Regions from separate parts of the Homo sapiens genome. Here regions 1, 3, 4 and 5 are each linked to region 2. The links are contacts of gene promoters, found by promoter capture Hi-C in blood cells and fetal thymus (Javierre and others, 2016). All regions are on one chromosome and are shown on one strand. The core of a region is centred on a gene start or on the middle of the fragment in contact, and the rest is flanking DNA. Distances in the headings are between cores, read along the strand shown.

Region 1 (5,804 bases), core at 488-2,987, 360 kb before region 2:
CCCATTTATTAGTTTTTGTGTCCTTCCACCATACTTGCTTGCCTTTTTGTGGGTCAAATTTATTACCAGCAAAGTGTTGTTCTGCTGCCATGAAAGGTTGGTTCTTGGCCAAATTTAAAAATTTTAATGTGAACAGAGCTAAATTTATCTGAGCATGGGGAGTACTGACATCCCCTTTCTTTTTGTTACCTTGTTTGCGAAGCTGGTCCTTGAGAGGTTTATTAGCTCATTCCACCAGAGGCTGTCCTTGAGAATTATAGGGAATTCCAGTAGTGTGAGTAATGCCCCATGCTTGAGTGAACTTTTTAAAGGCAATGCTGGTATAGCTGGGACCGTTATCAGTTTTAAGCTTAGCAGGGCAGCCCATAACTGAGAAACAAGAAGGCATATGTCATTTAACACGAGCAGTACTTTCTCCTGTTTGGCATGTAACCCAGATGAAATGGGAAAAGGTGTCAAGTGTTACATGTATGAAAGAAAGTCTCCCAAAAGCTGGAAAGTGGGTCACGTCCATTTGCCAGAGTGTGTTGGGGGAAAAGCCTCTAGGATTAACTCTGGAAGGAAGTGGTTGTAGGATTAACTCCGGAAGGAATTGGTTGTAGGATTAACTCCGGAAGGAAGTGGTGTAGGATTAACTCTGGAAGGAAGTGGTTGTAGGATTAACTGCCGAAGGAAGTGGTTGTAAAATTAACTCTTGGCCAGAGGGACAGTGCCGTACTATGGTTTTTGCCTGTTTCCATGTGGGAGGGAACTTGCTTCTGAGTCCTGCAGCATTGACATGAGTTAGGGCACGACAATTTCGCATGTCCATAAAAATGGATGTGGCTAAAGCATCAGCTCTGGCATTTACAGCTGAAAGAGGTCCTGGAAGTGATGTATGGGCTCAAATATGAGTAATGTAAAAGGGGGCACAGTGTGCTCTGAGAACTGTCTAAGACTTTTGAAAAAGTGAAAGTAAACTTTCCTCAGGCAAAAATTTAACACCGTTTCTATGTTGTGGGCAACATGCACGAGGTATGCAGAATCAGAAACAATGTTGACAGACTCAGGAAAATCCTCAAGGACAGTCATAACAGTGCTAAGTTCAGCTCGCTGTACAGAAATAGGTCCTGTGTTAAGAACGCGTTCCCATGGTCCTGTGTATACAGCACGGCCATTAGAGGAAGCATCAGTAAATATAGTAACGGCTCCAGTTAATGGAATACTTCTGGTAATATTAGGTAAAATCCAGGAAGTGAGTTTCAGGAACTGGAACAATTTTACATTAGGGTAATGATTGTCAATTATACCAGGGAAATGGGCCAAATTTACCTGCCAAATAACACAATTTGTAAATGCTTGTCAGAGTTGTTGACGGTTTAAGGGAAGAATAATTTTTTGAGATTCCTGTCCCAAAAGTCATAAAAGATGGGAACAGGCTTGCCTAATGAGGGTAGAAATTTAGTCAAGGTAAATAGTAAGTGTCCTTAGAGAGCTATGGGGAAGAAAACACCATTCAATTATATCATGTTCCTGAGTGATGATCCCTGTTGGAGAGTGTTCAGTGGGAAAAATTAAAATAGTAAAAGGTAATTTGGGATTGAATCTAGTGACCTGAGACCATTGAACTGTTTGTTCAATCAATCATAACTCAGACTCAGCCTCTCTGAGTCTGAGGTTTCTGTAAGAAACCTTTTCCTGTGTAAATCTGGATCCCCACATAATGTGGCAAAAAGGTTTGACATAGCATATGTAGGGATGCCCAAAGAAGGGCAAATCCAATTAATATCCCCAAGTAACTTTTGAAAGTCATTTAAAGTTTTTAAGGCGTCTCTCCTAAGCTGAACTTTTTGTGGTGTAATCAGCTTGTCTTCCAACTGCATGCCCAAATATTGAAAATGAGAGGTAGTTTGAATTTTTTCTGGTGCAATAGTCAAACCTGCTTCTGAAATGGCCTGTTGAATCACAGAAAAGCAGGAAATCAAAATGGTGTATGGGGGGGCTGTGCAGAGGAGATCATCCATGTAGTAAACGATGTAACATCGGGGAAACTGATCCCTGACAGGTTGAAGCACACGCCCCACAAAATACTGACAAATAGTGGGACTATTAAGCATGCCTTGTGGTAGGACTTTCCAATAGTAGCATGTAGCCTGAGCGACATTGTTGAGGGAAGGGACCATAAAAGCAAACTTTTCAAAGTCCTGAGAGGCCAGTGGAATGTTAAAAAAGCAATCTTTAAGATCTATGAGGATTAGAGGCCAATACTCAGCGAGCATAGAGCGGGAGGGTAAGCCAGATTGTAATGTCCCCAGAGGTTGAAGTACAGCATTAACTGCCCTAAGATGAGTGAGCATTCTCTGTTTTCCAGATTTCTTTTGGATAACAAAGACAAGTGAATTCCATGGAGAGAAAGATTCCTCAATGTGTCCCAATTCTAACTGTTCCAGGACTAAATTATGGAGCGCCTCCAGCTTATTTTTTGGGAGCGGCCACTGATCCACCCAAACTGGCTGAGTTTTCAAGTCAAAGGGATGGCATCTGGAGGCTTGACAGTGACTGCTTCTAAAAAGAATAACCAAGCCCTTTGGAGTCAAATTTATAGAAAGGTTGAATAGGCGCAGTAATACCTTGAGCCAATTTTCCCAGACCAGTGTCTTGAACATATCTCATTTTTGTCATAATGTTTTTACTTTGCTCACTGTTGGCAGCATGTGGAAATGAAATTTGTGCACCCCATTGCTGTAAAAGATCTCTTCCCCAGAGATTAACTGGAATAGGTGTAGAGGGTGAACAGTACCAGTCTGTCCCTCTGGGCCAGTACAATGTAAAATAGTGGAACTTTCATAAACCTCAGTGGCCTGACCAACTCCCACCAACCCGGTGAATGTGACTTCTTTGGGCCAGTGACGAGGCCATTGGTGTAAAGCAATAATGGAAACATCAGCACCCAGGTCAATCATGCCCATGAATTTCTTTCTGTGTATATGCGTGGAACAAACAGGTCAGGTGTCAGAAATTTTATTAGCCCAGTAAGCCACTTTACCCTGATTATCTGCACTCCTAAAACCTCCAGTTCTTTTATGAGAACTGGATCTGAGTGGAATGTACAGCAGAAGAAGAAGTTGAGCAATTCAATCTCCTGCTGAAGCTTGGCAAGGAACTGCAGAACTAACAGTAATGTGTATTTCCCCAGAGTAATCAGAGTCAATTACACCATTATGTACCTGAACACCTTTTAAATTTAAGCTTGAGTGACTGAGCAATAAACCAACAGAGCCAGGTGGCAAGGGCCCAAAAGCACCTGTGGGAACAGCTATTGGTGGCTCTCCAGGCAAAAGGGAAATGTCTCTAATACAGCAGAGATCTACTGCTGCAGATCCTGTGGTGGCGGGGGACAAGCATTGAAATGAGATCCTTGTTGGGGTTGTGACATCTATGCTTGTGGCATGAATGGTTGAAGTGGAAACTGAGTGGTTGGATCGATTGGTTGAGCTGGGGATGCCCTCATCTGGCTGCAAGGCCAAGGCTGGGAGTTGGGGAATGCTTCATTGTCTGGAGGGGCCTGGGGCTGGCCCCTCTTACCATTTCCCTGGTTTTGAAGTGGCTGTAAAGGGTTGCCATTAGTGTCGAATTTCGAGTGGCAGTGAGCTGTCCAGTGATTGCCCTTATGGCATCTTGGGCATGGTGTGGATGGTGGGACTCGCAGTTGTACGGCCTTTGGGGATTGGTGTTGTACAGGGTGGTGGTCTGAACACCGAGGACATTTTTTCCTGGTATGTCCAGATTGGCTGCAGTGAAAATAATTACCAGGAAATTGTCCAAGCATTCTAATGCTGGCCATAGCCTGAGCCGTGACCATAGCAGTATGTAACGTTCCACCAACACCCTCACATGCTTTAATATAGGATGTGATTAAATCACTTCCTGGTGGGATTTTACCTTTTACAGAGTGAATAGCAGCCTGATAATCTGGATTTGCTTGTTCATAAGCCATGAGTTCCACAACCAAATGTTGGTTATTTAGATCAGGAATAGATTTTTCTGCCACGTCCTGAAGATGGGCAATGAAGTCAGGGGTATGGTTCATTTTGCATTTGTCTAATGGCTGTAAAGGAGGGACATCTAGTGCCATCATCCTGAATCTTATCCCAAGCACCCAGGCAGCATTTTCGGAGTTGCTCAGTGACTTCATCATTCAATATAGTTTGCTTTCTAATTGCAGCCCACTGCCCCATTCCCAGTAACTGGTCAGTTGTAACGTTAACAGGAGGATTAGAGCCCTGATTAAGGCGGACTCAATCCTGGACAGCATCAACCCACCATGTCCTAAATTGTAAATATTGTGATTTAGATAAGACAGATTTTGCTAGAATTTCCCAGTCACAAGGCACCAAGCATTTATCTTCTGCTAAGGATTTTCGGGCGGAACGGACGAAAGGGGAATTGGTACCATATTGTTTAACCGACTCTTTGAAATCTTTAAGGAATTTGAAAGAAAAACTTTCCCAAGTAGCAGGTCATAGGTGGACCTGACCAGGGTGTAAAGGATCAGGTTGCACCACAGCCCGAATGGAATGTATGCCAGGAACTGGCTCTGCTGGGACATCAGGCCCTTGTTGCACTGGCTGAGGAGCCTGATCCCTGAGCTGCGGGTCTGGAGAGGCAGTGGCGTCAGCTGCCTGCTGAACTTGGTCAGCAGGTGGTGGCTGATCCATTGCAGCCAGAGCAGGGGCAGCTAGAATGGGGGCAGCAGGTATAGGAGATTGTAGAATAACAGGAAACGGCCATGCCTCGGGATCCCCGTATTCCCTTGCCTGAGAAATGGCCCTCATAAGAGGGGTGTCATTATCAGGAATGTATGTAACCTATTGCTTATGGGTAGCAACAGCAGTTGTGACTGGACCAGAAGCAGAAAAGAAATTGGGGTTTTGAATATAGAAGTTGAGAGACTTCAAGCCAGGCTGATGCACAGTTGCCTGCTTTGCAGGTCTTTCAGGGGCCTGAACTCCAGGCTGTTGCATTGACTGCAGGGCCTGAGCTCCAGGCTGGTGCACGGACTGCAGGGCCTGAACTCCAGGCTGGTGCATGGACTGCAGGTTAGGCTTCTGTGGAGCCTGATGCATAAGAGGAAAGGCAGAATTGGGTGAAGAGATAGCATTGAGGGCCTCATTACTGGGCCGAACAGGGATAGAGTTGACAGCCTCATAACCGGGCTGAACAGATGGATGGTTGAGAGCCCTACAGCAGGGCTGAGACAGTACAGGAGGTTCCGGCCACAAGGGCTGCTGATAGTACATTTCAGAGGGATTTTTTAGATCTGGGGGAAGGAGATCCTTCATAAGGTCCTCATAAAGTGATACTGGGGGTGCGGTAGGCATGGTAGGCTGTGGTGTATTTGGTGATGCCAAAGGAATATCAGAATGGAGGTCCATTTCTAAAATGATGGCTTCAGGTTGTGCAGTGCCCTCTGGAGAGAGAGTACTGAGGATTTCCTCAACCTCTTCGGAGGAGAGCAAAGGTAGAGTACCCTCCATTCCCTCCTCCTATGGCTGCAAGGATTCTAAGATGGAGCGAACCGAGGACCAAACTGTGCAAATGGCCGGCGGGATAACATGTTCCCCTCTATGAGCGATTTTAAACTGTTGGCCCACCTCATCCCAATCTTTAAGTTCTAGAGTTCCCTCAGTTGGAAACCAAGGGCAAATGAGAATGACGACCTCAAAGAGTTCAATTAGCTTGTCAGAAGAAACTGAAATTCCTCCTTCTTTAAGAAGGGTTTTTATGAAGTGTTTAAATAGGCCAAGTACTTTGTACTGGCTTGT
Region 2 (5,494 bases), core at 90-2,589:
GGTGTACATGTGGTATTTGTTCATAATAGTCACAGTAAAAATAATCACTAACATTAAAAAAAAAAAAGATTGTTCCTCTTCACGTGGTCTGTTCAAGTGACTCAGAAAGCAGAGTGATGCTGTTCTTTTTGAAATCAGCACGAATAGCCTGGACTAACAAGCATCCTTCGTCTTTGAAGGAGCTTAGCTTATAACATAACTCTGTCCAAGGGTGTAGAAGACTATCTTTGCCTTATTCTTCTCTTAGCCTCTCCCTTTTTTTCCAAATTCTCTATGAAAATATTAGTCACACTATAAAGTAGAAGACTATAAAATGTCCACTGAACGTCAACACTGATAAGTCATAGCACATTATTAAACGCTGCTATAAGGATTATTTGAATTACTAGAAAAGCATAACTCTCAGTTAAACTTTCAATTTTGAGGTCTTTGTAGATTGATATGCAGCTGTGAGAAATAACATAGGAAGATCCCTTGCATCCGTTACCCATTTCCCGCAGTGGAAACATCTTGCAAGACCATAATACAAAATCACACCCAGAATGTTGACAGTGATAAGATACAGAACATGCTATTATCACAAGTCTCTCTCATGTTGAAAGGCATAATTTTTAAAAGCAAAACAATTTAAAATTTTTTAAATGTTGGACAGAGAGACCAATGGGGTGAGAAATCAAAGATCAAGAAGCAGTTCGAAATGTTGCTTCCATTGAAGAATTAAAAATTCAAAGATACTGAAAAACTGGCACAGAAAAAAATAAAGGGCAAATGGATCTGAAAAGGTCATCCCAAAACAGAATTATTGTAAGTTATTCTATTCATTGTGGTGCCCAAAGAACTAAACTCAAGGGAGGGCAAAGAAGATGTCTGCGCACTTTACCCTGCCAGGCATTTATGAGGTTAGCCACGGTTACCTAAGTCTGAAGTCCTCAGAAACTCTTAACAGCCTAACGAAAAGTGAAGCAATGAATATCTACAGAAAAATCAGCACTCTGGGCCTAAAACAAAGGTGAAAACTAAAGGAAGGAAAGGTTTTTGCTTCAGTGCTTCAATTAATGGCAGTGAGCTACTGCAAATCAACTGAGCTTTACCTTGAAAGAAGCAACATTACAGAGGAATAGATTACAGCCTGTCCACATCTGCTCCCAACTCATCTACTTGGACATTGAAAGAAACAAATGTTTCTTTACAAATGTCTTCTCTTGCATTACAATTTTATTAAGAATTGTTTGCTGTGGGAAAAGGGCCAAATATGATTAGTAAAATTTCCTACAACAATGCATAGGCGTGTAGTCACTTACCATGCTGATGAGAACGTGCCCTTCCTGCCCTGTAGTAATGACTGAGGAGCCTCCCAGCTGAGCTTTATCACAGGGCCCGGAAATGACTCCACCTGAGGGCTGGAGCTTTCTTCACTTAAAGCAGTATAGCTTCTTTTTAGTTTTTTTAGTTATCTGGTCTCAGAGTAGCTGTGTTGGGCCTGAACAACCCGGGATAAAGTTTGTACACAGCTGCAGATGAACTACTGAGAGCTTATCCAAATCTGCGTCCAACTTATAACTATGTTGAAAAGAACATGTGTCTTTTAAAAATCACCCTTTTGGGTTAAGAATTTATTTAGCATTGGCAGAGAAAAGGAAGGAGTATGAGTAAAATTTTCTGCAACAGCAAAGTAGCTTTTTCTATTGCATGAGTACTATGTGAATATCTTCTTAAATAAATTTAAACAATCCCTGAATACATACAGCAAACCAAGACAGTGTCCTTTTTACATCTGTGTCCTATGCATGCCTCTCAACCACTACCACATCCAAACATATGGGAATTTTCTGTTTTTATTATTATTGTCTTTTGAACTTTTATATTATTATACATAATATATACTTATGTTATTATTTTTTATTAATTGCACTAAGATCAGATCACACATCTTAACTGAGTTCTCTCCTTATATATTTGCTAAAGCTTCCTTTATATTCTACTATATGGTCAATTTTTGAAAATATTCCATGAGTGTTGAAAAGAATGTGCATTCTACATTTGTTGGATGCAATATTTTAGATAGACCGATCATTCAATCAATCAATCTATTAAATCAAATGGATTTATTGTGTAGTCCAAATTTTACGTATCAATTATTTCAAAAGATGTATTAAAAGTTTTCATTATAATTGTGAATTTACCCATTATTTCTTTTTCTGTCAATTTTTCCTTTATACATTTTGAGGCCATGTTATGAAGAGCACATAAATTTTAAATTATTATATTTTCAAAAACTTTAACAATTTTTTATTTTTAAATTACCCTCCTTATATACATTAATTATTTTTACCTTAAAGTTTTTTTTTTTTTTTTTTTGAGATGCAGTCTTGCTCTGTCGTCCAGGTTGGAGTGCAATGGTGCGATCTCAACTCACTGCAACCTCCACCTCCCAGGTTCAAGCGATTCTTCTGCCTCAGCCTCTCAAGTAGCTGGGATTACAGGTGTGTGCCACTATTCCTAGCTAATTTTTTTGTATTTTTGATAGAGACAGGGTTTCACCATGTTGGCCAGGCTGGTCTTGATCTCCTGACCTCGTGATCTGCCCGCCTTGGCCTACCTTAAAGTTTTTATGATCAAATATTAATATTACTACTTTAATACAGTTTTTTGGTTCACATTTGAATGATGTATTTTCCCATCGTTTTACATTCTTAGAAACTTAAAACCTTTCCATATTCTCATATTTTGGATGTGTTCTTTGTATGCATGATATAACTGAATTTTTTTTCTATTTTTGTATTTGAATTGGAGAATTCAGCTCATTACATTTAATATAATAACTAATATAGTTGGGTTTAGATATAGAGTACTATTTTATTTTGTGCTTTCTGTTTGTCTCCATTTTCTAAGTTCTCTTTTCTTCCTGATCTTCTTTTGAATTAATGACATGTTTTGTTAGCATAGTAACAATTTTATTATTCAGTAATCAAAACAAAATTTCTGTTACTCAAGAATCTTGGTTTCTACCAATTCTTCCTTACAACTTTGAGAAAATGAAGAAACCATAGTGTTCTTCAGCAATTTTCTCCTGAACTTATTATAAATTATACTTTCTCTCATTTTGATCTTCATAAAGTCAATCCTATCTGTCTCTGTCAATAACTCCCCAAATGTTTAGCATCCTGGTAGTTCCATATAATGAAAAGAAAAATTAAGCCAGTTCCATTTTATAAAATCAGAATGATATTTATTTTGTTGCTGTATCAAATTTTCTCCCACTGGTCCCAGATATTTTCAGTTTGAAACAAGATGAGGGAAAAATCAGATAATGTGAGTATCTCATTTCTAGTCCACTGATGTACTCAGTATCTTTCATTAACTTTTAAAAATTGTCAGTCTGACATGGAGCTATGATTAACTTAGATTTACGTAGGAATTAGAAAGAAACTAGAAAAATCTCTTTTGTAGTATAATTTAAGAAATGCATCTTATCTTTTAGTAATTCCTTATTTCTTTGAAAGACTAAGTCTTAAAGAAAAAAGTTTCCTCAAGTGATAATAATTGGAATTTCACGTCTGAAGAGGCCTTCTGGGGTGATAGTTTTTGTGTCAACTTGGCTAGGCTGTGGCACCCAGTTATCCAATCTAACACTAGTCTGGGTATTGCTGTGCAGGCATTGTGGAGGTGTGGTGAACATCTCCAGTAAACTTTGACTTTAAGTAAAGGACATCATCCTCAATAATGTGAGTGGGCCTCATCCAATCAGTTGAAAGACCATAAGAGTAAAATGGAGATTTCTCTGAGGAAGAAATTTCTCCTAAGGATGGCACCTTTAGTTTCAGCTTTAGCTGTTACTCAGGAGTTTCCAGCCTGCCAGTCTGCCAGCCTGCCCTACTGATTCCAGACTTTACAGCCCCACAATCACACTAACTTATTCCTTAAAATAAATCACACACACAATACTGACTCTGACATACTTGGTGGCCACCCTTAGGTTCTGAGGGTGAAAAAATGGCAGAGTGATAAAAGTGTGGTATTTATAGTTACGATGTCCTTGTTCAAAGTTCCTTTCTTGGCCAGGCACAGTGGCTCATGCCTGTAATCGCAGCACTTTGGGAGGCCAAGGTGGGCAGATCACCTGAGGTCAGGAGTTCAAGACCAGCCTGGCCAATGTGGTGAAACCCCATCTCTACTAAAAATACAAAAAATTAGCCGGGTGTGGTGGCAGGCACCTGTAATACCAGCTACTCTGGAGGCTGAAGCAGGAGAATCACTTGAACCCTGGAGGCGGAGGTTACAGTGAACCAAGGTCACGCCATTGCACTCCAGCCTGGGCAACAAGAGCAAAACTCCATCTCAAAAAAAAAAAAAAGTTCCTTTCTTAAGTATTTTTCATTGTGAGCCAGTCAATTCACTGGCCAAGTAATGAGACAAACAAAACCTTCTAAGCATGAAAATTTGTTACAAAAAAAAAAAATTATTCAACTCTGAGCAATAATTCTGATTGACATTCTGACATTTCTGAAGTTCTCTTTGGTAATTCTCTGTTGGCAGCCTCACAACCACAGCCAGATCACTGTCCTTTGCCATTCTCTCTGGCCCCTACCATTGCACTGAAACCCCTTTCTCCTTCCTCCTCTGTTCTCCTCTCCTACTACTAATATAAATCAGTCTTTTAGACCTGCAATGTCTTTAGGAAGATAGTCTAAGCGTTAAGAAAAATGAATTACAGTCTACTTTGGATTAATAGCACCTTCTCTGGCCACACATATTTCATCTCAAATTTTATTGTTCTCTAAGCTCAACAGCTAGATTTTGGAGTTTTCCATTTTCCTCATTGGAATACCTAAGAGTAAACCAATATGGTAAACAAATGATTCATAGATGATTGATTGATTGATTGACTGATTGAGGCAAAAAATGAAACAACCTCCCCCCACATCACACATACACACACAGTGATAGATTTTAAGGGATGACAAACCTGATTTCAAATATTCTGCCCTATTGTGCCTATAAGTACACTTCTGCTTGTCAGAATGACAATCAATGCAGTCCACATACTTAGCTGTTGGACTACACTCCCTTTCATTTGGCAGGAACAATTAAGTTTGACCCAATTAAAAATTACAGTCTAATAAACAGTTTTGTAAATTAATCAATAGTAGATATAGTAAATATATTTTTAAAAATTTCAGACTTTATTATAACATTCTATATATAAATTATATGTATATGCACACATACAGACATTCATTCTCCTGAATGTAATTGCTGTTAGTTCATGAGAAGCTATGAGAAGATTCAGACAAAAAAGAAAAACGTTGATGCAAAGGGCAATTCTCTAGTTATTAAGACTACTAGTTTTCTAATGGTAGGTCATTGTTTGCAAATTTGCTACATTTTTCTATGGGAGCCTACAGACCAAAGGGGAATCATTTAGCTAGTGATAGCAATGGCAAACAAAATATCACATCAAAATCATCAAATAATTTGGAAATTAATAAAGTGT
Region 3 (5,282 bases), core at 934-3,433, 460 kb before region 2:
AGATGGTGGGAAGGAGATGAATGATTAGAGCTTGGGTTGCAATATCTATGAGCGTATTGAAAACACCAGGAAGGATGGCAGAAGTAGGACTGCACAATGTAACTCAAACACAGGAAAAAATCTCTAAGGAATCAGAGCAAGTGAGGTAGAAGGCAGGTGATTGCCACAAGGAAAGGTAGTTTGAAAAATGGGTGTTTCTAGGGAGCAGGAGGGGGACTGGGTAGATGAGGCAGTGAGGAGAAAGGAGGATGTCTGTCCTCCCTCCATGCTCCCTGGGAGGACAGTGGGAGAGGACCCACACCTCCCCTTAGGAGCACTGCAGGAGAAACAGAATCCTCATGGAAACTAGAAGTTTGGGTTAGAAAAACAGGGGAGGGAACAGAAGCTGATAATATTAACATAAAGTGAGAATTTTGAATTTTCTAATGGGAAGTTACAGGTTCTAGAAGGACCATCAGAAGGGTTTTAGAATTAAGGAAAGTGTGAGAAAAAGTCAGAAAACTGGAGGTAAGAGCTCTAGGGAATGAGAGTTCAGTTCAGAACTGGAGTCCTGGGCTCTTTTGATGACTGAAATAAAAGTGGGAGAGAGCCTAAGGAAATTACCCTGGGGACATCATGGTGCCTTGTGGTGCTGAGGCTGTGAGCTTTGAAGTGGGCAGCTGAGGGCTTGGAGGCTTCTGAGAAACATTCAGACCTCCAGGACCCTCTCTTGAATTCTGACCCTGAAGAAGAGGTGTCCAAAGAGCGATAGACTCACCAAGACAGTGAAACTCGCTCTATTTAAGTCAGAGTCATCTGGAGAATGGATAGAATGGAGGACTTACGCATCTCTTTCAATAAAGTATGTTTCTTCTAAGTGTAACAGACATCATCATGCAAAGTAGGTTTAGGGTGAATGCCATGTCGCCTCTATTTTTCTCTTGCAACTTGGATATATCAGAATGAAAGCTGACAGAAAGAAGCAAGAAGTCAGGAGCTCACGTTCTGTGTTCTTCCCCGCGGAGATGAGGGCTCCTGATGAGTGATCAAACGCTAGAAGGGGGTGAAGAGTACCACATTATTACCAATGCCCAGGACAGATGCCAAGCTGGGCAGTGATGGCGTGCAGAAAAGCCTCAGGGGAAAGACACAGCAGAAGGGGAGAGGGAGCATTTCTGTCTTTGATTCCACACCTGGGAAGGAAGCAGAGTCAGGATTAGTGAACAATATTCAGAATTATGCTTAGTTGGATCCCTTCATGTAAGTTCTGAGAAACTGCTGGGTGATGCCCAGGCTGAAATATGTGCTGAGATCAGCAGCCTTCCCTTGAGCAAAGTAAAGGATTTTGTTTTTAACAACAAAACACATTTCTTGTGTACCCTGAGTGTTTCCCAGAGACTCTCATGACCTAGTGCTTACTATGGAGGAATGTTTTCATTCAGATGAAGGAAAGCTTTCCATCAATGCAAGCATTGTGACAAGTTGATAGCCATTGCAACCCAGCTGTCCCTCAGAATGAGTGTGTTCACTGGAGGAGGTGACAACATCTTCATCATATTAATGAAAGCAAATGTCTAGGTTTTTTAGCAAAAGCACGAACTCTGAAAGAAAGCATAGTTACACATTAACCAGCTTGCCCTGTAGCCCACTTCCATGTAACTTCTTACACTTTGGAATCATGTAGTCCCTATCACAAGGTCCTAACCTCATAGATAACATCTCAAACAGTAGGAAATCTCACGTTTTCCACTCGAGATATTTTCTGCATCATGCATTATAACAGTTCTACAGATGCCATCCAATCTACAGCCCCCTCCGAGGAACTGACTCAGCCCCACAATGCAGTTACCACATCCTTAGGCTTTCATAGTCCACACCCTGGCCAGTCAGCACCCCGCCCTGCTCCTCAGCCCCCTGCCTGCCAAAATTCCCTTGAAACCCCTGTCTAAAACTCCTCAGGGCAGTGAATTCGAAGTTTCCTCCTATCTCCTCATTTGTTTGCCTTCAAGTATTAAATCCCTTCTCTGCTCAACAGCCGCTATTTCTGTGTGTTGATCAGTTACTGTACAATGAGCACAAACACGGGGATCTTGTACAGAGGCTTGTCCTGTCAGGTTTCCACTGGAAAGCTGCCATAAGCCCAAGGAGAAAGTGAGGCACAGACAGCGTCTTCCTCAACTTCCTTCCAGAGGATCGCACTACACACCCAACAGCAGGCTCTCAGAAGTCTTAACATATAAAAACGTAGTAGATAGGTAAATAGACTTGCAGAAGGATAGGTTTTCCTCCCCTCAATTCTTAACATATTCACCCTCACTCATGCACATTCTCATGTACAGTTTCCCAGTTACCCTCCCTAATCAGATGCTCTTACCAAACTGTGTCCTGTGTCCGGCTGTGTGCAGTTGGGGGTGAAGGGAAGGGAGGAAGGAAAGACAAGAGACTTGGCCCTGATGGTCCTCAGTCGTGGGGAGACCAATCTTAGGCCATGCACTATTCCTTCATTGCCATTGTCAGGGCCATGTTTGCTACTTCTGGGACTGGGTTTTATTACTTTCCTTCACCTTTTCTGCTTTGCATGGGAAATGCAGATACCCATGTAGGCACAAAAGGGCATTTTCTTCCCTCTCTCTTCTGAAGTTTTGATAATTAGAGTGTATAAAACAAACTGACAAGTGAAAGGTTAATATAAAAAGACAGCAAATTTGTATATATGTACATGGACATCAGATTCCTGCCAATAAGAGACTCCAGGGTGGTCCTGATGACAGAGGGTTTCATCACATCCTGAGGCTACAGAGAGAACAGGGGCTTGGGGTCTCTGGGGGAGGTGGAGTCTCAGGTAATGGGGGAGTGGAAGAGGCACACATGGTGAGCCAAGGCTGTCCCCACATAGATGTGAGCCTCTCAGGGGCTCGCCAAGCTGACCTCAAGAAGGTAGGTGGCGGCCTGTGGAGAAGCTTCTCAGTCAGACCTTTAAAGTGTCAGGATCTTAGTCTGTTTTTCCTGGAAGTTAATCTTTCCTTGATCCAATAAGGCATATAAAGGGGTCCTCAGAGAAAGGCTTTTACCCTCTGTTCACTTCACTAATGTACATTTCCTCAGCACTTACAAATCTCTGCGAGAGAAGAAAGCTTTTCAGGTCTATTTGTGTGTCAGCAGCCTCTCTGAATTGTGACCCCTCTGAATAGCCACATAAAATATGCCAAAAAAGTACATTTTGAGTGGCACATTTTGCTTTCCTTCGCCCTGTATAACACGTCTTAAAAACAAGAGTGTACCATGAGGTCCACAGCCGGTGGCCCCACTCCTGCCTCCTGAACAAAAGCTTCAACAAAAGGGATAATTTAAAAATGAGCAGCTCTATTTCATGGGCCACTTTCCAACCACCTGGCACTAAAGTAAAAGACCGGTGCAACTCAGAACAGGTACAATGATCCAGGCTTGTGACTGGCAGGTCTAGAATGCCATAGAAGTCCCCTAGTCACTGTGAGTCAGCAAGATTTTCCAGAGAAGGAGGTTGGAGATAACACTATGGAATCACTTTTAGAGGATCACGCCTGGTGGATGTGAGTGCCTTATTGAGGGGTGGGGTAGAGCAGACTTTTCTGACACGTGAAAGCAAATGGGCCTGCTCCACCCTTCAGTGCAAACCAGCCATCTGAAGCTGCTCTTATTTAATCATAGGGAAACAGTCACTTGCTTCAGTAGAAAACATTTTCAACTTACTCTACTATCGCATAAAGCAAAGGCATACAGTTGAAACCACTTGTGCTTTTAACATTTCTGGACCCTCCTATACCTATGAATAAATTTAAATGACTTGCTTATTCCAAATGAAATCCCTATGTTATTTAGGAAACATGTTTAGGAAAATACTGGACTGGAGAGAAAAACAACTCACAAAGAGTCCTGTACTCTTCCGGTGACCTACTTCACATTTAGAAGTTTGGTTAGTTTTTATGCCAGTCAAAACATCCTGCCATGTAACTATGGAGCATGTTCAGTAAAATCAAATGTTTTGCCCACACAGACAATAAAAATGAACTTTAATGTTTTTTGCCTTGGTCTTCAAAAATGCACCCAAAGGAGAAACACTGCATTTCCCAAACAGGACAAAGTGATTTGGTGCCAATCTCTTAAGAATGAAGAATGAAGTGTTTAGCTAGTTTGAGAGTCAAGAAAAATTGAGAAATGCAGAACTCAAGTTTCACACTAGAATATCGTTGTTACAAGTAACAGGAGGAAAGAAAAACCCATAGTCTTGGCATTACCCATCATTTTTTAGGGAATTTTCTATACCTTCTCTGTATATTGATTTTTCAACCTTGGATGCCAAGAAGGTATAAAATCCCATGTCCAGGCATCAGTACACACCCTCTTCTCTCAATGAGAGAAAAATACCTAGGACTTGTGGGGATACAAGGAACCCTTTGGCCAAGTGATTAGTCTTTGGTCCTTAACACTCAGCCTAGTACATTTTGGGCTGGGAGAGGGGAGGTGGAAAAATGGGGAATATTAACCTCACGACTAAACAAACACTAATGTTCCTTAGTGGAAAAAAGGTTATCCTGTTGAACCAGCAAAATGACTAGAGGTTTCTGCAAACGGCTAGAGGTTTCTGCAGACATTCTAGTTCATCAAAATATTTTAATTAATTTTAATAATCTTAGCGAGGTGCTAAAAGAGGGACCCTAATGGGATGTGAGACAAACACAAAGAGATTTTAGTTTTATGAAAAGCAAACTCTATGACTTCACAAACTAGATTTTGTATTAAGGTCGCAATGTAGCCAAGTAATTCTGGGCATGACTGTTTAAAACAGGAATGTGAAACCAGAGAAAGGCAGCCCTCCTTTGGCTGGGCGATGGCATAGCAGACCAGGAACTTTCCCCCACATGGTGCTCTATACAGGACAGGGGTGAATCAGCTCAGCTACACCATGTGCCTTAGAGACTCTGAACATGAGACATGTGGAAAAAGACCCTAAAAAATAATTACAGGCAGAATGCAGGAAAAACAGCCAGATGGCCAGGCATGGTGGCTCATACCAGTAATTCCAGCACTTTGGGAGGCTGAGCCAGGAGGATCTCTTCAGCTCAGACCAATCTGGAAAACACCTTGAGAACTCATCTCTGCTAAAAAGAAAAAATTTTAAAAATTAGCTGGGTGTAGTGGCACCTGTCTGTAGTCTCAGCTACTTGGGAGGCTGAAGTAGAAGGATTGCTTGAACCCAGGAGGTCAAGGCTGCAGGGCATTGTGATTGCACCATTGCACTTAAATCTTGGCAAAATTTTTTACAG
Region 4 (5,407 bases), core at 326-2,825, 480 kb before region 2:
TCACATTGTTTTGTCACTAATTACAGCTTTCTGCATTGTGTACATATTAACTTAGAATTATACTTATTTCTATACGTTTATATTTTAAATCTTGAAGAAAAATAGAGTACAATTCCAAAATTTCAAAAATACATGTTTTCATATTTTGCCACCTATTCACATTGACTAGATGTCTTTATAGGTCTAAATGGCTGTAAGTTACTATTTCCTTTTATTCAACCTGAATAATTCCCTTCAGCATTTCTTGTAGAGAAAAAATAATGAAATCAGGGATTGGAGGTCCCTATACAATTTTCTTACATCCCAAGTGTTCCTAAAACCAAGTGTTGAGCTTTAAGAAATTCTGAGTAAGTTTTTGTTTGTTTGTTTTTAACTAAGAATTTTGTGGAAACAGAGGGTAAAGAACTGGAATAAGCCTGTAGCAGATTTAGTATTTACAAATGACTGTCCTAATGATTATTTCACATCTGGAAAAACATGTTATGCATGCTAAAGAAATCTGAAATTTAAAATATTTCCTAAGAACTACACACTTGACCTGTAAGTTTTAAGAAAATGTCATTCTTTTCTTGGTAGTTACATCAATCAACCTTATGAGATGTGAAATAATTATTAGTTAAAATAAGAAAGTTGAGGTGGAACAGGAGGCAGTTGTTTACATGGTTTGTTTGAGACATGCTAAGGGTGAATGTCCCTTAGACACTAATAGGAGATGTAGAGCACACATTGTTATGTTCTGTCCTGGAGTTTGGAGGAAAAAGCTCAGCTAGAAATATTTTTGGGGTGTTTCTCAACCTAAAGGTGGTATTTAAAGCCAGAGATCATCAAGGGAATGAAAATAGACAGAAAACAGTCCAAGAAATTGGCCTAGGGCGCTCCAAAGTTTATGACCTCCCTCAATTTTAAGGAATAAATAGTTTAAGGAAAGATTGTGGGCTGCAAAACTTGCTGGGAGACCTGGCTTGAGAAAGCCTCTTTGATGGGGTTAAGGTGGCCACCAGACTAAGAACAATTGAGAGTGAAAGTGTTAGTGTGCCCAGGTCAAAAACCACTGTCCTCAAAACGCTCTCACCAGGATATCCCAAGTTTTCAAAAGAGCTGCCTGAAATGAAAATTTATGTCCCCATGATTAACTGATTTACTTCGTACCCCTAAAAACTATGTAAAAGAATTACATATATTTGTAAGAGTTGTTCCTGACATTTACTAAAGTTTGAAAACATTGTGCAATTTTGCAGACACTGTTTCCAAAAGATTTTTGGGATTTTGGAGAATTTGCTTTATTAGATGTATTATTTACCATTTTGATCTTAATTTGAGAGTAATATGTAATGGCTTTAGAACATTTTGTCTTTTATACTTGTAAGCATGCCTTACAGCTCTCTTCCCACCGTAACCACATGCCAAAAGCAAGGAAATTAACATGAGTGACCTAAACAGACCTTTTGCAGTAAAACACATGTTGATGAGATTACAATCCTGACCCCAAAACCATCACTTATTTTATGTATGAAACATGTAAAAAGATCAAGTATCATAAATTAATAGTATATTTTTGGAATCTAAGAACATTCTCTAAAGATGGGGTTGGTATTTAGGGGAATCTGATCAGTCAATGGTGTCTTCAATGTCCTTTCCCACCACAGCCCAGTACGGTCAGTGCTGTAACTGGCCACACATCAGAGGTCCAGGCCTGACTCTCAGCTCTAGGATTTCTTAAAGCATTGTGGAGAGAATTTCCTTTTATGCACAACATATAATTATCCAAAAAATGGTGCCAATGTATTTTTCCAAGCATACATGTACTCAACCCTCTCCTTCTAAACCTCTTCAATATCTGACTTCTAATCATTTCTCCTGGGTGGGTGCCCTCCCTCCTCACTGAACACCCCTCCCACAGGGATGCCTCATTCCTAGGCTCTGGGAGGGATGCCTCATTCCTAGGCTCTGGGAGGGATGCCTCATTCCTAGGCTCTGGGAGGGAGCCTAGGAATCTGATCCCTGCACTGCTGGAGGAAGCCCATGGATTCCTGGTCATCCTTTCAATAGCCCTCACCCTCCAGACTCGATGCTGTGTGTGTTCTTGTTCCTCAAATAGCTAAAGATGCACTGATATATACCTGTCACCAGCTCCTTCTTTAGAAGCTGGAAATCACCCATGCCCACCTAAAAATGTCTATAAAATGGTTGTCATCATCTCCCACCCCCTGATCCTAACTTATAAGCAAATCACCATTTTTGAGCTAATGAGTCAGAAAGAAAGAAAACATACAAGTAATGGAGACCAAAGTAGGTAAAGAATCTTTGGAAGAGAGCACTCAATTTTTTCAAAGAGAAAAAAAAAATATTGTCTTTCCCTTCTGGCCTGTGAACTTATATTTGGCTGACTGAAGTCGCTAAGCAGGGTAGATTTAGCCAAAGGCGATGTGTCCAATCACCAGCATAAAGACGTCCTCTGTGTCACCATCCACACACAGGGCCTCTGATAGAACTCATACAAAGTCCTCCATGTTAATATTCACCTGAAAATGGATAATCAGGGTGGCCAGCAAGACTGAAGAAGAAAGGATAATGCATGATAAGAACTGCAATGATTCCATTATTGGGGGGGTAGCACAGTGATTTCTAGGAAGCTGCCATTAGTGTGGATGTTAAGAAGTTCATTTTCTGATTGCTGGAGTGTCTGCATTTTTTACTTTTATGAACATGACTTTACAGTATCTGTATTATCAAAGTAATAAATTATTCAATTCTACTCCCCTGCCTGGAACTTAATACATAAAACACAAATTCCACCGGGCCCAGTGGCTCACGCCTGTAATCCCAGCACTTTGGGAGGCTGAGGTAGGTGGTTGTATCACCTGAGGTCAGGAGTTTGAGACCAGCCTGACCAACATGGTGAAACCTCGTATCTACTAAAAGATACAAAAATTAGCCGGGTATGGTGGCAGACACCTGTAATCGCAGCTATTTGGGAGGCCGAGGCAGGAGAAGCATTTGAACGCAGGAGGAGGAGGTTGCAGTTAGCTGAGACAATGCCATTGCACCCCAGCCTGGGCAACAAGAGCGAAACTCTGTCTCAAAACAAACAAACAAAACACACACAAAGTCAAATGTTCAAACATATTCCTGTACATCTGCCTACAGAGCAAAGAGATATTCTATTTCAAATTCTCAATGGAAGTAGGAACTCTTTCTGCCTTACTTTGAAGGAGAAACAAGTTATACGCTCATCACTAATAAATAATTTTGAGTGTGAAAGGCTACTGGTAGCAATTAGGCTTTCTTTTATTACTTTATTTATTATTTACTGCCTGCCTACCATATGCAACATATTTGTTAGTTTCAGAAATGTAAATTGTTGTATATGATCCAGGGTCCAATATCCAAGAAAATACAATGCACTAAAAATGTCTATGTAGACATAATGCAAAAAATAAAGGGACAAATAAATGCCTGCTTATCGTTAGATATTTCATTGGTGGTAAGAATTACAGATGCTTGCTATTCTTCCTTTTATTTAATAATTTCCTTTTTATTTTTTATTTTCCTCTATATTAATAAAATATCAACAATGGTATCTACCAGTTTTTGAGTTCTTATGATATGCCATTGTGGTTATGTTTTTCACACATTATCTCATCATCTCTATTCTTAAAATCTCCAGTGTCAGCAGTTACATAACTTCTCTTTTCCCTCATTACATCGGTGACCATCCATGACTCCTAAAACCTTAAAGCATTTGAAAGGCAGTCTCCCAATAGATAGAAACACCTGAAATCGGTAAAGACAGTAGTTACATTGCCTTACTGTCCATCAATGCTAGATTGCAGTCTTTTTTTTATCTTTTGTTTTAGGTTCAGGGTACATGTGCAGATTTGTAAATTGCATGTCATGGGGGTTTGGTGTGGAGATTATTTTGTCACCCAGGTACCAATCACTTGAATAGAGTGTCCCTTCCCCAGTGCTTGTTTTTATTAATTGACAGAAATCAGATTATTGTAGTTGTGCAGCATTACTTCTGGGCTCTCTATTTTGTTCCATTGATCCATGTGTCTGTTTCTGTACAAGTCTCATGCTGTTTTTGTTACTGTAGCCTTTCAATATAGTTTGAAGTTGGGTAATGTAATGCCTCCACCTTTGTTCTGCCTTGACTATTAGAGTCTTTTTGGTTCCTTATAAATTTTAACATAGTGTTTTTTTCTAGTTCTGTGAAGAATGTCATTGATAGTTTGATGGGAATAGCATTAAATCTGTAAATTGCTTTGGGCAGTATGGCCACTTTAACAGTATTAATTCTTCTTATCCATGAGCATGGAATGTTTTTCCATTTGTTTTTCTCGTCTCTGATTTCCTTTGAGCAGTGTTTTGTAATTGTAATTCTCATGGTAGTGATATTTCCCCTCTGTGGTTATCTTATTCCTAGATATGATGCTCATTTACCATTCCAACAATCCTAGGGCACAGACAATCACACACACACACAGGTACACACACTTACATGGAGTCATGCACACAGGCACACACACATGCACACACTTGCATACACATACACACTAGCACACAAACACATATACACACAGGCACACACACACACAGGCACACATACACACAGGTGCACACACACACAGGTGCACACAAACACATATACACACAGGCACACACACACACAGGCACACATACACACAGGTGCACACACACACAGGTGCACACACATACACACACAGGCACACACACAGACACTCTCATCTTCTCCAGCTCTTCTTCTTCTGTGTATTGATGTTATCTTCAGGGTGGGTGGAGGCTGCTGAAGCAATTTTTGAACTCACACTGCAGCAGGACAATAGCTACTTGCAGAAGAAAGGCCACCTTATTTTAAAAATTTCTTCCTAGAAGTGAGGAATCCTTCCTAGAAGCCCCTAGCATAGTCCCTCTTATGTGGCATTGGCTAGGACTGGGTCACAGCAGCTCTCTTCCCACTGCAACCACATGCCAAGGGCAAGGAAATTAACATGAGTGACCTAAACAGACCTTTTGCAGTAAATCACATGTTGATGAGATTACAATCCTGACCCCTAAAACCATAATATGAAATTGATGTTTTTCACAAAAGTTAGACATTTCCAATATTGCCTATATTTCCAAATTGCTTTGCAAAGTTTTAAAACAACTCAAAATAAATTAAAGTTTTAAATGTAAGAACTGAAACTATAAACTGCTATCAGAAAATGTAAGGAAAATTCTAAATTCTTTGGGGAAAAAGTAATAACTAAATTTAGGGAAATAATTCAAGAGTATGACCTCAAGAACACAAACAAGAGAATAAAAACAGACATATATGGCTTAATAAAACAAATAAGCTTCTGTAAATCAAAAGAAATAATCAAAAGGGTGAACAGACAACCTA
Region 5 (5,004 bases), core at 835-3,334, 510 kb before region 2:
AGGGCTCTTTTTTGGTTCCATATGAACTTTAAAGTAGTTTTTTCCAATTCTGTGAAGAAAGGCATTGGTAGCTTGATGGGGATGGCATTGCATCTATACCTTAGGCAGTATGGCCATTTTCACGATATTGATTCTTCCTACCCATGAGCATGGAATGTTCTTCCATTTGTTTGTATCCTCTTTTATTTCATTGAGCAGTGGTTTGTAGTTCTCCTTGAAGAAGTCCTTCACGTCCCTTGTAAGTTGGATTCCCAGGTATTTTATTCTCTTTGAAGCAATTGTGAATGGGAGTTCACTCATGATTTGGTTCTCTGTTTGTCTGTTATTGTTGTATAAGAATGCTTGTGATTTTTGTACATTGATTTTGTATCCTGAGACTTTGCTGAAGTTGCCTGTCAGCTTAAGGAGATTTGGGGCTGAGACGATGGGGTTTTCTAGATGTACAATCATGTCATCTGCAAACAGGGACAATTTGACTTCCTCTTTTCCTAATTGAATACCCTTTATTTCCTTCTCCTGCCTGATTGCCCTGGCCAGAACTTCCAACACTATGTTGAATAGGAGTGGTGAGAGAGGGCATCCCTGTCTTGTGCCAGTTTTCAAAGGGAATGCTTCCAGTTTTTTGCCCATTCAGTATGATAATGGCTGTGGGTTTGTCATAGATAGCTCTTATTATTTTGAGATACATCCCATCAATACCTAATTTATGGAGAGTTTTTAGCATGAAGCATTGTTGAATTTTGTCAGAGGTCTTTTCTGTATCTATTGAGATAATCATGTGGTTTTTGTCATTGGTTCTGTTTATATGCTGGATTATGTTTGTTGATTTGCACATGTTGAACCAACCTTGCATCCCAGGGATGAAGCCCACTTGATCATGGTGAATAAGTTTTTTGATGTGCTGCTGGATTCATATTTTATTGAGGATTTTTGCATTGATGTTCATCAGGGATATTGGCATCATGCTACCTGACTTCAAACTATACTACAAGGCTACAGTAACCAAAACAGCATGGTACTGGTACCAAAACAGCGATATAGACCAATGGAACAGAACAGAGCCCTCAGAAATAATGCTGCATATCTACAACTATCTGATCTTTGACAAACCTGACAAAAACAAGAAATGGAGAAAGGATTCCCTATTTAATAAATGGTGCTGGGAAAACTGGCTAGCCATATGTAGAAAGCTGAAACTGGATCCCTTCCTTACACCTTATACAAAAATTAATTCAAGATGGATTAAAGACTTAAATATTAGACCTGAAACCATAAAAACCCTAGAAGAAAACCTAGGCAATACCATTCAGGACATAGGCATGGGCAAGGACTTCATGTCTAAAACACCAAAAACAATGGCAACAAAAGCCAAAATTGACAAATGGGATCTAATTAAACTAAAGAGCTTCTGCACAGCAAAAAAAAAACTACTATCAGATTGAACAGGCAACCTACAGAATGGGAGAAAATTTTTGCAATCTGCTCATCTGACAAAGGGTTAATATCCAGAATCTACAATGAACTCCAACAAATTTACAAGAAAAAAACGAACAACTCCATCAAAAAGTGGGCGAAGGATATGAACAGACACTTCTCAAAAGAAGACATTTATGCAGCCAAAAGACACATGAAAAAATGCTCATCATCACTGGCCATCAGAGAAATGCAAATCAAAACCACAATGAGATACCATCTCACACCAGTTAAAATGGCGATCATTAAAAAGTCAGGAAAAAACAGGTGCTGGAGAGGATGTGGAGAAATAGGAACACTTTTACACTGTTGGTGGGACTGTAAACTAGTTCAACCATTGTGGAAGACAGTGTGGCGATTCCTCAGGGATCTTGAACTAGAAATACCATTTGACCCAGCAATCCCATTACTGGGTAAATACCCAAAGGATTATAAAACATGCTGCTGTAAAGACACATGCGCACGTATGTTTATTGCGGCACTATTCAGAATAGCAAAGACTTGGAACCAACCCAAATGTCCAACAATGATAGACTGGATTAAGAAAATGTGGCACGTATACACCATGGAATACTATGCAGCCATAAAAAATGATGAGTTCATGTCCTTAGTAGGGACATGGGTGAAGCTGGAAACCATCATTCTCAGCAAACTATCACAAGGACAAAAAACCAAACACCGCATGTTCTCACTCATAGGTGGGAATTGAACAATGAGAACACATGGACACAGGAAAGGGAACATCACACACCGGGGCCTGTTGTGGGGTGGGGGAAGAGGGGAGGGATAGCATTAGGAGATATACCTAATGTTAAATGACGAGTAAATGGGTGCAGCACACCAACATGACACATGTATACATATGTAACTAACCTGCAGGTTGTGCACATGTACCCTAAAACTTAAAATATAATAAAAAAAAACTAAGAAAAATAAACAAACTTTATAAGATAAAGCTGGAAATAATGACAGATTAAAAAAAATCTATTCAAATCTTTTGACCATTTTTTAAATTGGATTATTACATTTTTTTCCTATAGAGTTGTTTGAGCTCCCGATGTATTTTGGTTATTAATACCTTGTCAGATGAAGAGTTTGCAAATATTGTCTCCCATTCTGTGGGGGTTTTCGCTTCACTTTGTTAATTGTTTCCTTTTCTGTGCAGAGCTTTGTAACTTATGATTCCGTTTGTCCGTTTTTGCTTTGGTTGCCTATGCTTATAGGGTATTAGTCAAGAAATTTTTGCCCAGACCAATGTCCTGAAGATTTCTCCAATGTTTTCTTGTAGTAGTTTCGTAGTTTGAGATCTTAGATTTAAACTTTTAACCCATTTTGATTTGATTTTTTTGCATATGGCAAGAGATAGGGGTCTAGTTTCATTCTTCTGCATATAGATATCCAGTTTTCCCAGCACTATTTATCGAAGAGATTGTCTTTTCCCTAGTGTATGTTCTTGGCACCTTGTTAAAAATGAGTGCACTGTAGGTGTGTAGATTTGTTTCTGGGTTCTCTGTTCTGTTCCATTGATATATGTGTCTGTTTTTATGACAATACCCTGCTGTTTTGATTACTATAGCTCTGTAGTAAAATTTGAGGTCAGGTACAAGGCTACAGTAACCAAAACAGCATGGTACTGGTACCAAAACAGATATATAGACCAATGGAACAGAACAGAGGCCTCAGAAATAACACCACACATCTACAATCATCTGATCTTTGAGAAACCTGACAAAAACAAGAAGTGGGGAAAGGATTCCCTATTTAATAAATGGTGCTGGGAAACCTGGCTATCCATATGTAGAAAGCTGAAACTGGATCCTTTCCTTATACCTTATACAAAAATTAATTCAAGATGGATTAAAGACTTAAATGTTAGACCTAAAAGCATAAAAACCCTAGAAGAAAACCTAGGCAATACCATTCAGGACATAGGCATGGGCGAGGACTTCATGACCAAAACAACACAAGCAATGGCAACAAAAGCCAAACTAGACAAATGGGATCTAATTAAACTAAAGAGCTTCTGCACAGCAAAAGAAACTACCATCAGAGTGAACAGGCAACCTACAGAATGGGAGAAAATTTTTGCAATCTACCCATCTGACAAAGGGCTAATATCCAGAATCTACAAAGAACTCAAACAAATTTACAAGAAATTAAAAAACCTGTCAAAAAGTGGACAAAGGATATGAATGGACAGTTCTCAAAAGAAGACATCTATGCAGCCAACAGACACATGAAAAAATGCTCATCATTACTGGTCATTAGAGAAATGCAAATCAAGACCACAATGAGATACCATCTCACACCAGTTAGAATGGCAATCATTAAAAAGTCAGGCAACAACAGATGCTGGAGAGGATGTGGAGAAATAGGAATGCTTTTACACTGTTGGTGGGAGTGTAAATTAGTTCAACCATTGTGGAAGACAGTGTGGTGATTCCTCAAGGATCTAGAACTAGAATTTCCATTTGACCCAGCCATCCCATTACTGGGTATATACCCAAAGGATTATAAATCATGCTACTATAAAGACACATGCACATGTATGTTTATTGCAGCACTATCCACAATAGCAAAGACTTGGAACCAACCCAAATGTCCATCAATGATAGACTGGATTAAGAAAATGTGGCACATATACACCATGGAATACTATGTAGCCATAAAAAATGATGAGTTCACATCCTTTGCAGGGACATGGATGAAGCTGGAAACCATCATTCTCAGCCAACTATCACAAGTACAGAAAACCAAACACCGCATGTTCTCACTCATAGGTGAGAATTGAACAATGAGATCACTTGGACACAGGGTGGGGAGCATCACACACCTGGGCCTGTCAGTGGGTGGGGGGCTGGCGGGGGGATAGCATTAGGAGAAATACCTAATGTAAATGATGAGTTGATGGGCACAGCAAACCAGCTTGGCACATGTATACCTATATATCAAACCTGAAAGTATAATTTAAAAAATATTTGAGGTCAGGTAATGTGATTCCTCCAGTTTTGTATTTTTTGCTTAGGATAGCTTGGGTTATTCTGGTTCTATTAGGCTGATAACAACAGTGTTTGTATAAACAAACAAACTGGCAAAAATAAAACTAATAAAAACTTTACACCTTAAGTTCGTACTCGTACCCCAGCTTTTAAACTTTTTGTTGTTTCTATTTATATCATATTGTACTGTTTATGTCTTGAAACGTTGTTATTATTTTGATTGGTTCATCATTTAGTTTATCTGCTTAGGATTAGAGTAGTTTAGACACCACGGTTACAGTCTTATAATATTCTCTGTTTTCCTGTGTACTTGCTGTTACCAGTGAGTTCTGTACATTCAGATGATTTCTTATTTCTCATTAATGTCCTTTTCTTTCTGATTGAAGTGCTCCCTTTAGCATTTCTTGTAGGACAGGCCTGGCATTGATGAAATCCCTCAGCTTTTGTTTATCTGGGAAAGTCTTTATTTTTCCTTCATGTTTGAAAGATATTTTCACTGGATATGCTATTCTAGGGTAAAAGATATTTTTCT

Evidence for each region. Contacts are between HindIII fragments. The CHiCAGO score rates a contact against its expected background, and 5 or more counts as called.
Region 1: a fragment that was not itself captured here is called in contact with the fragment with the promoter of TUBAL3 in region 2 in 2 of 17 cell types (M0 macrophages and erythroblasts); the score reaches 6.6 in M0 macrophages.
Region 3: a contact is called between a fragment that was not itself captured here and the fragment with the promoter of TUBAL3 in region 2, in 2 of 17 cell types (M0 macrophages and M1 macrophages). The highest score is 5.4, in M0 macrophages.
Region 4: a fragment that was not itself captured here is called in contact with the fragment with the promoter of TUBAL3 in region 2 in 2 of 17 cell types (M2 macrophages and M1 macrophages); the score reaches 7.8 in M2 macrophages.
Region 5: a contact is called between a fragment that was not itself captured here and the fragment with the promoter of TUBAL3 in region 2, in 7 of 17 cell types (M2 macrophages, total CD4 T cells, M1 macrophages and 4 more). The highest score is 8.6, in M2 macrophages.

Annotation. Positions count from the first base shown.
Region 1 is chr10:5,040,728-5,046,531 of GRCh38, forward strand. The region is part of intron 3 of LOC107984198 (a long non-coding RNA gene); the gene reads left to right. Among named protein-coding and RNA genes, the nearest start is that of AKR1C2, 40 kb to the left of the region's middle. The HindIII fragment of the contact is 2,781 bases long and covers 348-3,128 here.
Region 2 is chr10:5,403,489-5,408,982 of GRCh38, forward strand. TUBAL3 (tubulin alpha like 3) reads right to left here and starts at 1,340. Exons shown (of 4, transcript NM_024803.3): 1 at 1,302-1,340. The coding sequence starts at 1,304. The HindIII fragment of the contact is 4,190 bases long and covers 1-1,963 here.
Region 3 is chr10:4,938,225-4,943,506 of GRCh38, forward strand. No RefSeq gene overlaps it. Among named protein-coding and RNA genes, the nearest start is that of AKR1C1, 23 kb to the right of the region's middle. RefSeq lists a cis regulatory region at 3,234-3,805. The HindIII fragment of the contact is 1,507 bases long and covers 1,431-2,937 here.
Region 4 is chr10:4,920,072-4,925,478 of GRCh38, forward strand. No RefSeq gene overlaps it. Among named protein-coding and RNA genes, the nearest start is that of AKR1C1, 41 kb to the right of the region's middle. The HindIII fragment of the contact is 7,566 bases long and covers 1-5,358 here.
Region 5 is chr10:4,895,942-4,900,945 of GRCh38, forward strand. It overlaps the pseudogene AKR1C6P. Among named protein-coding and RNA genes, the nearest start is that of AKR1C1, 65 kb to the right of the region's middle. The HindIII fragment of the contact is 9,579 bases long and covers 1-5,004 here.